Linked DNA regions of Homo sapiens: region 2 is linked to region 1. Evidence: promoter capture Hi-C in 16 types of primary human blood cells and fetal thymus (Javierre and others, 2016). All regions are on one chromosome and are shown on one strand. Each heading gives the region's core, a stretch centred on a gene start or on the middle of the fragment in contact. The rest is flanking DNA. Distances are from core to core; before and after follow the strand shown. Region 1 holds the start of NUDT10 (nudix hydrolase 10). Region 2 has its middle 43 kb from the start of NUDT11.

What was found. Contacts are between HindIII fragments. The CHiCAGO score rates a contact against its expected background, and 5 or more counts as called.
Region 2: a contact is called between a fragment that was not itself captured here and the fragment with the promoter of NUDT10 in region 1, in 3 of 17 cell types (naive CD4 T cells, non-activated CD4 T cells and fetal thymus). The highest score is 8.0, in naive CD4 T cells.

What each region holds. Positions count from the first base shown.
Region 1 is chrX:51,329,734-51,336,200 of GRCh38, reverse strand. NUDT10 (nudix hydrolase 10) reads right to left here and starts at 3,379. Exons shown (of 2, transcript NM_001304963.2): 1 at 2,742-3,379. The coding sequence starts at 3,235. All of the region lies in intron 4 of LOC105373204 (a long non-coding RNA gene), which reads left to right. The HindIII fragment of the contact is 9,034 bases long and covers 1-5,403 here.
Region 2 is chrX:51,450,093-51,456,559 of GRCh38, reverse strand. No RefSeq gene overlaps it. Among named protein-coding and RNA genes, the nearest start is that of NUDT11, 43 kb to the left of the region's middle. The HindIII fragment of the contact is 9,447 bases long and covers 1-6,467 here.

The DNA of each region.
Region 1 (6,467 bases), core at 2,130-4,629:
TCATCCATTCCTCTAATCAACAAATACTTATTGAGCACCTACTATGGCTCATCAACCATTTTGAATTGGAAAAGCCTTCAGTGAATTATCGAATGCAGTTTCACTGTGAGGCCAGATGAGAGCCTGAGGGAATAACAGATTGTCCCAGGTACATTATGAAGCTCAGAAATCGGGAATACACTTGTAGACATTTCTAATCTGTGGATCAAAGACAAATGTCTCCAAATTTCAGGCACTGTTCTAGGCTCTGAGGATATGGGGGAGGATTCAGTCTGGGTCCTAGTCCTCAAAAAGTCCATATTCTAATAGGCCAACAGTCATTCAGAAAGATGATTGCAATACAAGAATGATGCTGAGAATATTTGTTTTGACTGATGCTTCCACAAAAGGAACTCTGAAAAATAAAACTCTGGCCAGCTGTTAGTGCTGTAAGCTCTAATCTCCCTTTTCCCAGTCAACAACTATGGAGGGAGGACATGCTTTTTCTTACAATTGAACTCCACTTAAAGGCAAGTGAGACAAGGAGCAGCTCCAGCATCAGAGCCCTTTAAACCATCTATCCCACAAGGGCCCTCTAATGTTGCTGTTTCTTTACAAGCTCTTACACATACACACTTCAATTTTTATCAATTTTCTACAGGACTTAAAAATATTTATGGCCACCTTTCACCCCTTTCAGGGTTACTTCTTTCAAAGGTGACCTGATCAACAGAACATAGGTTTCTTAGAAAATATGTTAACCATCCAGAGCAAATTCTGTATCAAGCAACCAAACTTACCTTTACTCCAACATGTCGTCTTCAAATTTTTTTTAGAATAAGAAAAAGTAGGCACTTGTCCATTGGGGGACAGGGACGAGGGGGAAAATCAGTCTTTTTTTTTTTTTTTTTTTTTTGAGACGGTCGCCCAGGCTGGAGTGCAGTGGCACGATCTCGGCTCGCTGCAACCTCCGCCTCCCGGGATCAAGCGATTCTCCTACCTCAGCCTCCCGAGTAGCTGGGATTACAGGCGCACACCACGATGCCCAGCTAGTTTTTGTATTTTTAGTAGAGACGGGGTTTCACCATGCTGGCCAGGCTGATCTTGATCTCCTAACCTCGTTATCTGCCCGCCTCGGCCTTCCAAAGTGCTGGGATTACAGGCGTGAGCCACCGCGCCCGGTCCCCCAGCCCCCACCCATACTCTCTTCAAAAACTAGACATTTCCTCAACTGTCATGGGAGATGAAATCCAGAAGAGGAACCTAGAATTTACATAGCGAAACCCAAAATTTCTTAATAGAAAGTGCGTAACAGTGACCCATAGAACAAGACTCCATCTCAAAAAAAAAAGTTAAGGGACCCCAATACCTGTCAATAATGTTTAAGAGATATGACATAGTCTAGGTTGCTCTAGAAATTAGGAATGATCTTTTCATTCGAATACCCTCTTCACAAAATAGGTTTTCCTTCTACCTAATGTCAGACATGGCTGGGGGAACAGCGGAAGGTCCAGAAGAGAGATTTAGCTATTCTAGATGGGATTCCTGACTTCAAGCAAGTACTGAGGCAAACGTGAGAGCTTTTAATTTGGCACCCAGAAAAGGTGGTACTGTGAGACAAAACAATTACTCTCTATCATTGAGAGATTGTTCAGGAATCCTAATAGTTTGACAATTCTGTACCAGCTGAACATCGCTAGAGCTAACTCTGTTGGGATGTAATCACCACAAAAGATTCCATTCCTGTGGTTACTGGGAGTCAGGGAGGTTAAGCGGAATGTCACTACATTCAAATATGGAATGGAAACCACTTTCTTTCAAAAACAAACTTAAATCCAGAGAACCATGGTTCTTCTATGGTATCCAGTAAGGGGCAATGGGAGTTGGAAGTTGAGTATGGGAAATCAAATTCTGTGAATACAGTTTTTCTGATCAGATGCGTTTGGCTAGCAGATCCCCAGCAGCATCTATTCAGTAAGGTTAATCTACATGGGAAATAGCGATTTAAAGTCAGCAGTGAAAAATTACTTGTGAAAATTTTTTGAAAACCAAATGACCTACATAGAAATAGAAAAAGAAATTTCTGAAAGGGGCAAATGAGATACCACTTCAGAGGCTAGAGCGACTGTCGAGTGCAGAAAGAGCACAAGATGTAGGATTTCCTAATGTTTTTACGAATTCAAAACTGATTTTTTAAACCAACTCCCACCACAGAAGGCCTCCCTGACAACAAGGGCGAACGCTGTGAAGGAGAAAACAACTCAAGGGAAAAAAATACTAAAAGATGCCACACAACCAAGCTGGTCAGACTTTAAAGGCCTCCACTACCAAACAAACCACAAGGCTGGTATCAAAAATGTGCACGCACCCACGAATATGTGTGAAATATAAAAGAACCAAAAACATCACAGGGCGCACAGGCAGACACACACACTCCCCGCCCACCCCTCGCCCCCCACCCCCCCCCCCCCCGCCCAAAAGCAGGGTGAACAGTTACAGCACCTAAAACCCCAAGCGGCATAGGCTTCTCCGAAACATTTTACAGGGTAACCAAGAAGCGATTTTGAAAGCAACTGAAAAACGTGCCAACTGAAAACAGGGCCTGGCAACAGTTTGCAAGCGTGATTCAGAGGGTCTGCCAAGGAAACAAAAGCCTCCCTCCTGCCCATGAGACCGCACATGGTACGAGAGGTGCTCCAGGCGGGATGCATTTTAAGCAAGGCAGACAAACAGAAGTCTGTGCGGGCGCAAGCGGTACATACTAGGGATCGCTATCTGGCGAGGATGGGGCCATGGAGTTTCCATTGGTTGGGGAACCGCCCAGCTTTAGTTTCTCCAGATATTCGGCGTGCACGGGCTTGTGGCACTGGAGAACCTTGATGGCATCTTCGACTTTGAACCACTCTCGCTTCCTCCCAATGCTAACCGAATCTTCCCAATCCTCCAGCAGCTCCGTGACAGTCAGTACATACACGTACGTTCTGTGCTTGGGGTCCTGGTTCTGTTCGAAGACGCCCAGGAGCCGGCCTAACTTCCCCTTGACTCCCGCCTCTTCGTACACCTCTCGGACCGCCGCACCGCCCGGCTCCTCCTCGGGCTCCATGCCCCCGCCCGGCACGATCCAGCGGTCCGGGTACCGGCTGCTACTCACTAACAGGACCTCGTCCTCGCGCTCGCTCCGGAAGCACAGGCACGCCGCCCGCTTCTTGAACCCCTCGGGGTCGTAGGTCCGTGTCTGGTTGGGTTTGCACTTCATCCTCGAGGCAGCCTCCTCTCGCCTCTCGCTGCTGTGTGGGCCGCCGACGCAGCTGCTGCCGCTGCCGGGCAGCAGCCGAGGTGCTGGGAAGAGAAAGGGCCGAGGAGAGGGGCGGGGAGAGAGAGGCGCCTCCGTCTGCCGTCTGCCCCCGAGCCCGGGGAGCGGAGGGAGAGATGAAGCTGGGCGGGGCACGGGCGGAGGCGGGGGCAAGCGAGGCGTGTCAGTCAGCCAGTCCGCCAGTCCGATGGGCGGCCGGCCGAACCCGGGCCCGCCGGAGTGGAGGAGGCGCTGCTGCCCGCGAGCCCGCGACTCTCCACAGAGCCCACCCGCTTCTGCGAGGTGAAGCGCATTCTCGGGCGCGTCCGCGCTCCCGTTCACGTGCGCGTTCGCAGGGGAGGGCGTGGGCTGAGGGGCGAGGAACCGGGGCGAGGGGCCAGGGGCGGGGGTCTCCTGGCTCCCGCAGCGCGCAACGCCTGGGGCCCACTGCGCAGGCGCTTCGCACTCCTGGGGCCAGGAACCTCCTTGGCGCACAGCGAAATTCACCGCATTGTGACTTTGGCCAAGACTGCCTCCATGTGTGCCTTTGACCCAAACTCACTGTGGCACGGCAGGACGTTTCTCCTCTCACTCCCCACTGCGCTGCAGGAAACCCACAGGCAGTTGTTTCACACAAGACAGGGGCAAAGGCAGCGTCGTCATCATCCTCCCCCACTATCAACCATTCTGGCTTACTCATGGGACCTGGGCCCTAGTGTTGTCTGCACAACCCACGGGATTCTTGGCACAGTAGCCGGGCATCTTTGCTGAGTCACATGATGCAGTTTTATTTCTTCAACAGGTTCCCACCTTGCAGAGCATCTTGGCGCAGCCAGTAATTTAACGCTTTTCTTAAACCCCTGTTCACAACCTGCCTGACCTCCCTGCACCTCAGTTTCCTCATGGGTACACTCCTCGCCTCCGTGTTGCAGCCATTTGCACTTCGATGCAGTACACCTTAAAGACCAGAGCACCACCCATCTAGTAGTCCTGCGTTAAAGCCCAGAGACGTTCTCCTATTCTCCACACACTCCACCCTTCTCTATCTTTCTCTTTGATAAGCACCACTTGGTGTTTGGGAAACCATGCACATGGAGATCCCGTCCTATTTCACAATTTTATTTTATTTTATTTTTTGAGATGGAGTCTCACTCTGTCGCTCTGTCGCCCAGGCTGGAGTGCCGTGGCACGATCTTAGCTCACTGCAACCTTCGCCTCCTGGGTTCAAGCGATCCTCCTGCCTCAGCCTCCTGAGTAGCTGGGATTACAGGCGGGTGCCATCACGCCTGGCTAATTTTTGTAGCTTTAGAAGAGACGGGTTTCACCATGTTGGTCAGGCTGCTCTTGAACTCCTAACCTCGCGATCCGCCCACCTCGGCCTCCCAAAGTGTACTATTAACCACCACAAAACAAATAAAATACTAAGGGGTCCTAAAAATGTGGTTAGGACTTAGTAGTACAAAATGGTTGAACTTCTACTCAGAGCTTTGAAACATGATTTGAATGAATCACGAGACACTCTAGCAAAACTAGCAGACTAGTGGGGTGTCTGGGTTCGAGAGGGGCCAATCCAGGCTCCGGCCACAGGGCAGGGCTGCTTCACAATTGCCAGGTACTGTCTCCTTTGTCTCACAAGAAAGAGGTGCCATTTTCTAGTCTATTCCATCAGTATCAGTTCTACATCACACCGTGCCTCTGCAATAGGTCCCTTCCGGGGGCATACTTGTGGCAGGGAAGAGGAATAGGACATTATAACATGGAAAGAGGCACAGACTGAAACCCTACTGGAAAAGTCTGGATATGGAGACCCACAACTTAAAACAGGCTTAATACAATAGCAAGGGAATTTTTTAATTACCTTTTCCCCAAACTTTCACAGCTGACATAGTTTGGATACTTGTCCTTGCCCAAATCTCATGTTAAATTGTAATCCCCAATGGTGGAAGTGGGGCCTGGTGGGAGATGTTTGGATCATGAGGGCGGATCCCTCATGGCTTGGTGCTGTCTGTGTGATAGTGAGTGCTCACAAGATCTGGTGACTTAAAAGCAAGTGGCACCTTCCCCTGTCTTGCTCATGCTTTCGCTATGTGATGCATCTACTCCCCCTCTGCCTTCTGCCACCATTGTAAGCTTCCTGAGGCGACCCCAGAAGCTGAGCAACTGTTGGCACCATGCTTCCTGTAAAACCTGCAGAACCATGAGCCAATTAAACCTCTTTTCTTTGTAAATTACCCAGTCTCAGGTATTTCTTTATAGCAATGTGAGAATGGCCTAATAACTTTATTATTCATCTATAATATAGTAACAAGGCAAGAAAAGCTAAGACTTTTGTAACGATAGTAAAAATCCTTTTTAAGAGAACAGCATTCCTCTGTCTGGTTTTGCATATTTAAGTATTTCTCCAATGATGAGCAGTGTAATTCAGGAATCACTGTAGTAGTAGATTGTTACAGTGAAACTGCAATTTGTTCGTGGAAGCCTGTATCTCCTTCCACACTGTCATTGTTTCTGGTCTTGGCCATGTAATTTGTTGTGTCCAGTGGGACAATAACAAATGTGAACAGAAGTCAGCAGAGAACTGAAAGGTGCTTGCACACTGGGGTATCCTCTCTCTTTTCGCTCTTGAAACATTGTGACAGCAATGTGAGGAAGGCTGGCCAGGCTAGCTGGATGATGAGATACCTGTGGCAGATTCTTCCCTTTCACCCCAGCTGACAGTGAAACCGTTGCCCAACATATGGGTGAGGCCATCCTAGACCATTCGCCCACAAGCAGAACTACTTAGGTCATAAGAGAGCACTAGCTGAAGATGCATAACTAAGCCTAGCCATGAACAGCAAAAAAAAAAAAAAAAAAGCAAACAAACAAACAAGAAAACCCACTCAGATGGGACCAGCTGAAATTATTGACCTGCAGAATTGTGAGTAAAATAGTTTACTGTTTAAAGCATAAAATTTGGCAGCGCTTTGTTATGCATTAAAAACTAGCTGCTCCAACCATTGACATGATACATAAAAATCAACCAAAAACAATCAGAGAAAGACAAGATTGTTCGCTGTAGAAATGTAACATCTACTTAAAAATGCTGGCATTTCACTTTCCCTGGAGTCAGAAAGGGATGAAGTTAAGACATCTAACGTGTTGAGTACAGTCCCTGTGAGAGGTCCTGTGTTACGCCCTGCATTCTATTTAACTG
Region 2 (6,467 bases), core at 1,964-4,463, 120 kb before region 1:
GAGACTAGAGGAGGTGGTGTTTGATTTGCATAGGGCCCAGGGGATTGGTTTGACCAGGTGTGTCATTTATGTAGCCCGTGAAAAACCTGGCCCTCCCACCATAGTCTTTTAATATGCAAATGTGGGCGGCCATGATAGCCTGTACATGCAGAGTTATCTGGAGGTGGCCATGACACTTGGCACATGTGGTGACAAGGAGAAGAGGGCGGGAATGGCCATATTGGTTGGACCTAGTTTCTAATCACCAGCATTCGCATGTCAGTGCTTGCTGGCCTGGTTTTTGCAAGTCGCCTTTCTGTTAGAAAAGAAGTGTTTCAGGAGCTGTTTCTATTAAAAGAAAAAGCCTTACCGAGAACTCCTTTAACCCTCTCTATCTGCCTAAAACTATTTCTTAATAACACCCGTATTTTTTTTTTTTTTTGAGACAGAGCTTTGCTCTGTCGCCCAGACTGGAGTGCAGTGGTGCAATCTCGGCTCACTGCAACCTTCACCTCCCAGGTTCAGTCAATTCTCCTGCCTCAGTCTCCCTAGTAGCTGGGATTACAGATGCATGCCACCACACCCAGCTAATTTTTGTGTTTTTAGTAGAGATGGGGTTTCACCATGTTGGCCAGGCTGGTCTTGAACTCCTGACCTCAAGTGAACCGCCCGCCTTGGCCTCCCAAAGTGCTGGGATTACAGGCATGAGCCACCATGCTCGGCCAATAACTCCTGTATTAAAATGAACTCACGAGTGGTGCTGAATAGTAGATCTGAGCTGGCAGAAGAATCAGCAAACTTAGATGTAACAGATTTTGCAATCTGAAGTTTAAACCAGAAATAAACCTCTTGGCCAAGGGGACCCCAGAGCAACCTGAAAAACTAAATTACAGGCCATGATGGGAAGGGAGGTCAGACATGCCTCATTATAACCCCTCCCTTTTGGAGTTTAGGCAAAACCGGCCAGAATTAATAAAATAGAGATATTAAGACTGACAGAACAGACTCTTTGGCAATAAGATACCAAATATCAACCTGACTCTGGTATAGCGTCACATGAAAGATAGTAGACCCTGAAGAAAATAAAAATATTTTACCCTAAAATGTTTTTTTTTGACATGTTTTGAAATGGCCCTGCAAAGCCATCTTTGGTGGAGGAAATTTTGCATGTGTAGAGAATCCCCATTAATACAGCTAGGCCTTTCCTGAATCTAGGAAAGATTAAGAGTCTGACACCTATTTTAAGGTTTGAAAAGAGACATTTACCATCTATTCCCTCTGAAGCCTGCTACCTGGGGACTTCATATACATAATAAGAACCTTGGTTTCCACAACTCCCCTTATCTTAACTCAATCATTTCTTTCTTTTCTTTTTTTTTTTTTTTTACTGATGTCAAGTCTTCAGCTTAACTCTTTCAACCAACTGCCGATCAGAAAATCTTTGAATCCATTTATGACCTGTAAGCTGTCCCCCTCAGTTTGAGATGTCCTGCTTTTCTGGGCTAAACCAATGTATACCTTATGTCTTTGCCTGTAACTTCTGTCTCTCTAAAATGTATAAAACCAAACCATAACCTGACTGCCTCAGGTGTACTTTCTCAGGACCTCCTGAGACTGTTCCCTGGGCCATGGTGACACATTGGCTCAGAATAAACTTATTGAAATATTTAACAGAGTTTTCTTTTTGGTCAAAAATTAGTCAAAAAGTACACTATTTTTAACTTTGCAATAATTGATATTTTATTGATTTCATTTTGCATCATGGCTGCATAAAGGCATTTGTAAAAAGCATTGGTGATATTCTCCTGATACAATGGAATTCCATCATCAACTTATTTTACAACTTCTTTCAATTGGTTTATAACTAGATCAACTGTTGATTTCTTAAATGAATGCCAAAAACTCTTTACATAATCCCTGAAGGAGTGAGAATTTCTTTAAACTTTTATTTAAAGTTTAGGGGTACATGTGCAGGTTTGTTACATAGGTAAACTTGTGTCCTGGGGGTTTGTTTTACAGATTATTTTATCACCCAGCTATTAAGCCTAGTACCCATTTGTTATTTTTCCTGATCCTCTCCCTTCTTCCACCCTCCATCGTCTACCCTCCAATAGGCCCCTCTGTGTGTTGTTCCCCTCTATGTGTCCATGTGTTTTCATCATTTAGCTCCCACTTATAAGTGAGAACACGTGGTATTTGGTCTTCTGTTCCTGTTTTGGATTGCCAAGAATAATGGTCTCCAGTTCCATCCATGTCCCTGCAAGGGACATGATCTCGTTCTTTATACTGGATGCATAGTATTCCATGGTATATATGTACCACATTTTCTTTATCCAGTCTATCATTGATGGGCATTTAGGTTGATTCCATGTCTTTGCTATTGTGAACAATGCTGCAATGAACATACATGTGCATGTGTCTTTATAATAGAATAATTTATATTCCTTTGGGTATATACCCAGTAATGGGATTGCTGGGTCAAATGGTATTTCTGTCTTTAGGTCTCTGAGGAATTTCCACAATGGTTGAACTGATTTACACTCCCACCAACAGTGTATAAGCATTCCTTTTTCTCCACCACCTCACCAGCATCCTTTTTTTTTTTTTAAACTAAAAAAGTACACTTAAATAAAAACTCACAAGAGGTGCTCAACAGCAGATCAGAGCTGGCAGAAGAAAGAATCAGTAAACTTAAAGATATAACAATAGATTTTGCAATCTGAAGAACAGACAGAAACAAGAATAAAGATAAAAGAGCATCAGAGAAATATGGGACACATGATAAACTCTTGATATTTGCAAGAGAAGAAGATCATATATAAGGTATCCTGCAATAAGAATAATAGGTGACTTTTCATCACAAATCATGGAAGACAGAAGGCAGTGGAATGACATATTCAAAGTGTTTAAGGAAAAAAAGCAACTAATAGTCTTATATACAACAAAATTATTTTTCAAAAGTGAAGGCAAAATACATACCCTGAAAAACAACAACAAAAAAGCTGAGATAATTTCATTGCCATCTGTGGTAGACAGAATATGGTCCACCAAAGATGTCCATGTCCTAATCCCAGTAACCTATGATTACAGAGGTTGGAGTGATGGACTTGAGGAAGGTTAGAAGGGGTCATGAGCCAAGGAATGCAGGTGATGTTTCGAAGCTGGAAAGGCAACAAAGCAAGTTTTCCTGTAGAGCCTCCAAAGACAGTACAGCCCTACTAACATTTTGATTTTGGCATAGTAAGATGAATGGACTTCTGACTTCCAGAACAATAAGATAATACATTTGTGTTGTTTTAAGCCACTAAGTTTGTGATAATTTGTTACAGAAGCCATAGGAAACTAACATACTAGCAGAGCTGTGCTGCTAGTATTTCCTATTCACAGGAAATACTAGAGAAAGTTCTTCAGGCTGAAAGAAAGGGACACTATAGAATAATTTAAATCTAAACATCAAAACAAAGAATCCTATTAAAAATAATTATGTAGATAAGTATAAAAGATTGTATCATTCCTTGTTTGTAAACTGAGTTAAGAACATATCGCGGCCAGGCGTGGTGGTTCATGCCTGTAATCTCAGCACTTTGGGAGGCCGAGGCAGGCAGATCACGAGGTCAGGAGATCAAGACCATCCTGGCCAACATGGTGAAACCCTGTCTCTACTTAAAATACAAAAATTAGCTGGGCGTGGTGACGCTTGCCTGTAGTCCCAGCTATTCGGGAGGCTGAGGCAGGAGAATTGCTTGAACCTGGGAAGTGGAGGTTGCAGTAAGCCGAGATTGCACCACTGCACTCCAGCCTGGTGACAGAGTGAGACTCCGTCAAAAAAAAAAAAAAAAGAACATATTGCATAAAAATCTATAAAATTATATACTTGACATATTACATATAGAAATACAATATATTTGACAATAACAGAACAAAAAAGGAGGTCAGACATGAAATATATTGGAGTAAAGAGATATCACCACACAATAACCTGACTTCATCAGGAGAAATACACAAAGACAGAAATGGTAAATAAGGTTAATATAAAAATGGTATAAATATATTTTTTTCTCCTTTATTCTCTTACCTTCTTTAAAAGACACACAATTATGTAAAGCAATAATTGTAATACTATATTGTTTTTTGTAATATGAATAGATGTAGTATATACAATATCGCAAAGGGGGTGGGAGGTACAGAAGCTATAAAGGAACTAAGATTTTCTATCTTATTGGAATTATTTGAAGTAGTTTAACTTGACATATAATCCATAAGTCAAAGCAACAACCAGGAAAATTGCTAAAAAATGTAGTGAAAACCATTAAAGAAATGAAAAAGTTACTCTAGAAAATAACTACTTAATATAAGACAGAAAAAAGGACTAGAGGAACACAAAAGACACAAAATATATAGAAACCAAAAGCACAATTGTAAACATAAATCAAAGCATATCAATAATAATATTAAATGTGAATCAATTAAACTATCCAATCAAAAGGCAGAGATTGTCTGATAGAAAAACAAGATCCAATCCTACTTATGGTGTCTACAAAAGACATACTTTGCTTTCAAAGATACAAATAGGTTGAAACTAAAAAGGCGGAAACCGATGTTGTGCGAAAACAGCCATAAGAGATCTGGAGGGGCTATGCTAATATCAGACAAAATAGTTTTTTGGTCAAAAATGTTGATAGCGATAAAAAGAGATATTTTATAATGATAAAATATCAATCCATTGGGAAAATATAACAATTATAAATGTGCATGCATATAACAGAAGAATCCCAAAATACATGAGGCAAAAGAAATGACATAATTGAAGAAATAAATATATGATTTAAAAAAATAGTTGAGAATTCCAATATCACACATTGAATAATGAATAAAATATCTAGGCAAAAGAACGGAGGTATAGAAAACTTGAATAATAATAATATAAACCAACTAAACTTAACACATATCTGTAAATCAATTTACAGCACAATAGAAGAATATACACTCTTCCTAAGTGCATGTATGAAACATTCTCTAGGAGAGTATATAAGCAAGGCCTTAAAATAACCCACAATAAACTTAGAATTATTGAAATTATATACATATGTCCTTCAACCACAGTAGAGTGAGATTAGAAATCAGTAGTAAAAGGAAAATTTGTAAATTCAAAAATATGTGGAAATTAATGTGCTCCTAAACAACCAGTGGGTTTTAGAATAAATCAAAAGGGAAATTAGAAAAGATGTTGAGATGAATGAAAATAAAAAAACATACCAAACTTATGTGATGCACCTTAAGCGTGTTTGGAAGGAAAATAATTTCTATAAAATGCTAAAAAAGTTCTCAAATCAGTAACCCAACCTTTAACCTTAATAAAGTAGGAAAAGAAGAGCAAACTAAACCAAAAGCAAACAGAAGGAAAGAAAAAATGAACATTAGACTTCAAATAAACTAAATAGAAAATAACAAAACCAAAAGTTATTTCTTAAATCTGATCAACAAATTGACAAGCCTTTGGCTAGAATGACCAACAAAAAAGGAAGACATAAATTAGTAACATTAGGACTGAAAGAGAAGATAACACAAACAAACTTATATAAATTAATAGTATCATAAGGAAACCTATAAACAAGTATATGCCAACAAATTATATAACTTAAATAGATAAATTCCTACCAAGACACAAATTACCAATACTAGCACAAGAAGAAATAGAAAATCTGAATAAACCTATAACAAATAAAAAGATTAAATTAGTAATTTCAAACCCCCCCCCCCCCCGCCGCCACACAAAAACACCCAGGTCTAGATGGATTTACTGGTGAATCCTAATTAACATTTAAATATGAATTAATATCAATCCTTCACAAACTCTTTGATAAAGTAAAGGAAGAAGTAAATTTGTCAAAGGGGCCAAGATAATTTTGTGGGGGAAAAGATAGTGTTTTCAAAAATGATGCAGGGACAACTGGATATTCACATGCAAAAGAATGGATATTGTATTACTCAGAGTTCTCCAGAGAGACAGAACCAGTAGAATGTATGGAAGGAAATTTATTAGGGGGAATCTGCTACCACAATCACAGAAGTGGTGAAGTCCCACGATAGGTAGTCTGCAAGCTGAAGAACCAGACAGGCTGGTAGCAGGACTCAAAGCCCGATCAATAGCTGTATACCAGGTAGCAGAAGGTGTGTTAATTTGCTCAAGTAATGAAACATCTGGTACAGCGGCTGCAATTGGAATCACCACTTGATGAAGTATTATGATAATTAACTGTCATTCTCCAACATCCATCTGTCTTCTGCACAAGCCAAATAGGAGAGTTGAATAGGGATGTGGTGGGAATTACCACCCCTCCATCGTTCAAGTCCTCGATGGTGGCATTAATCTCTGCAGTCCCTCCAGAGATGCAGTAGTGTTTTTGATTTACTATTTTTCTAGGTAGAAGCAACTCTAATGGCTTCCATTTAGCTTTTCCCACCATATTAACTCTCACCCCACAGGT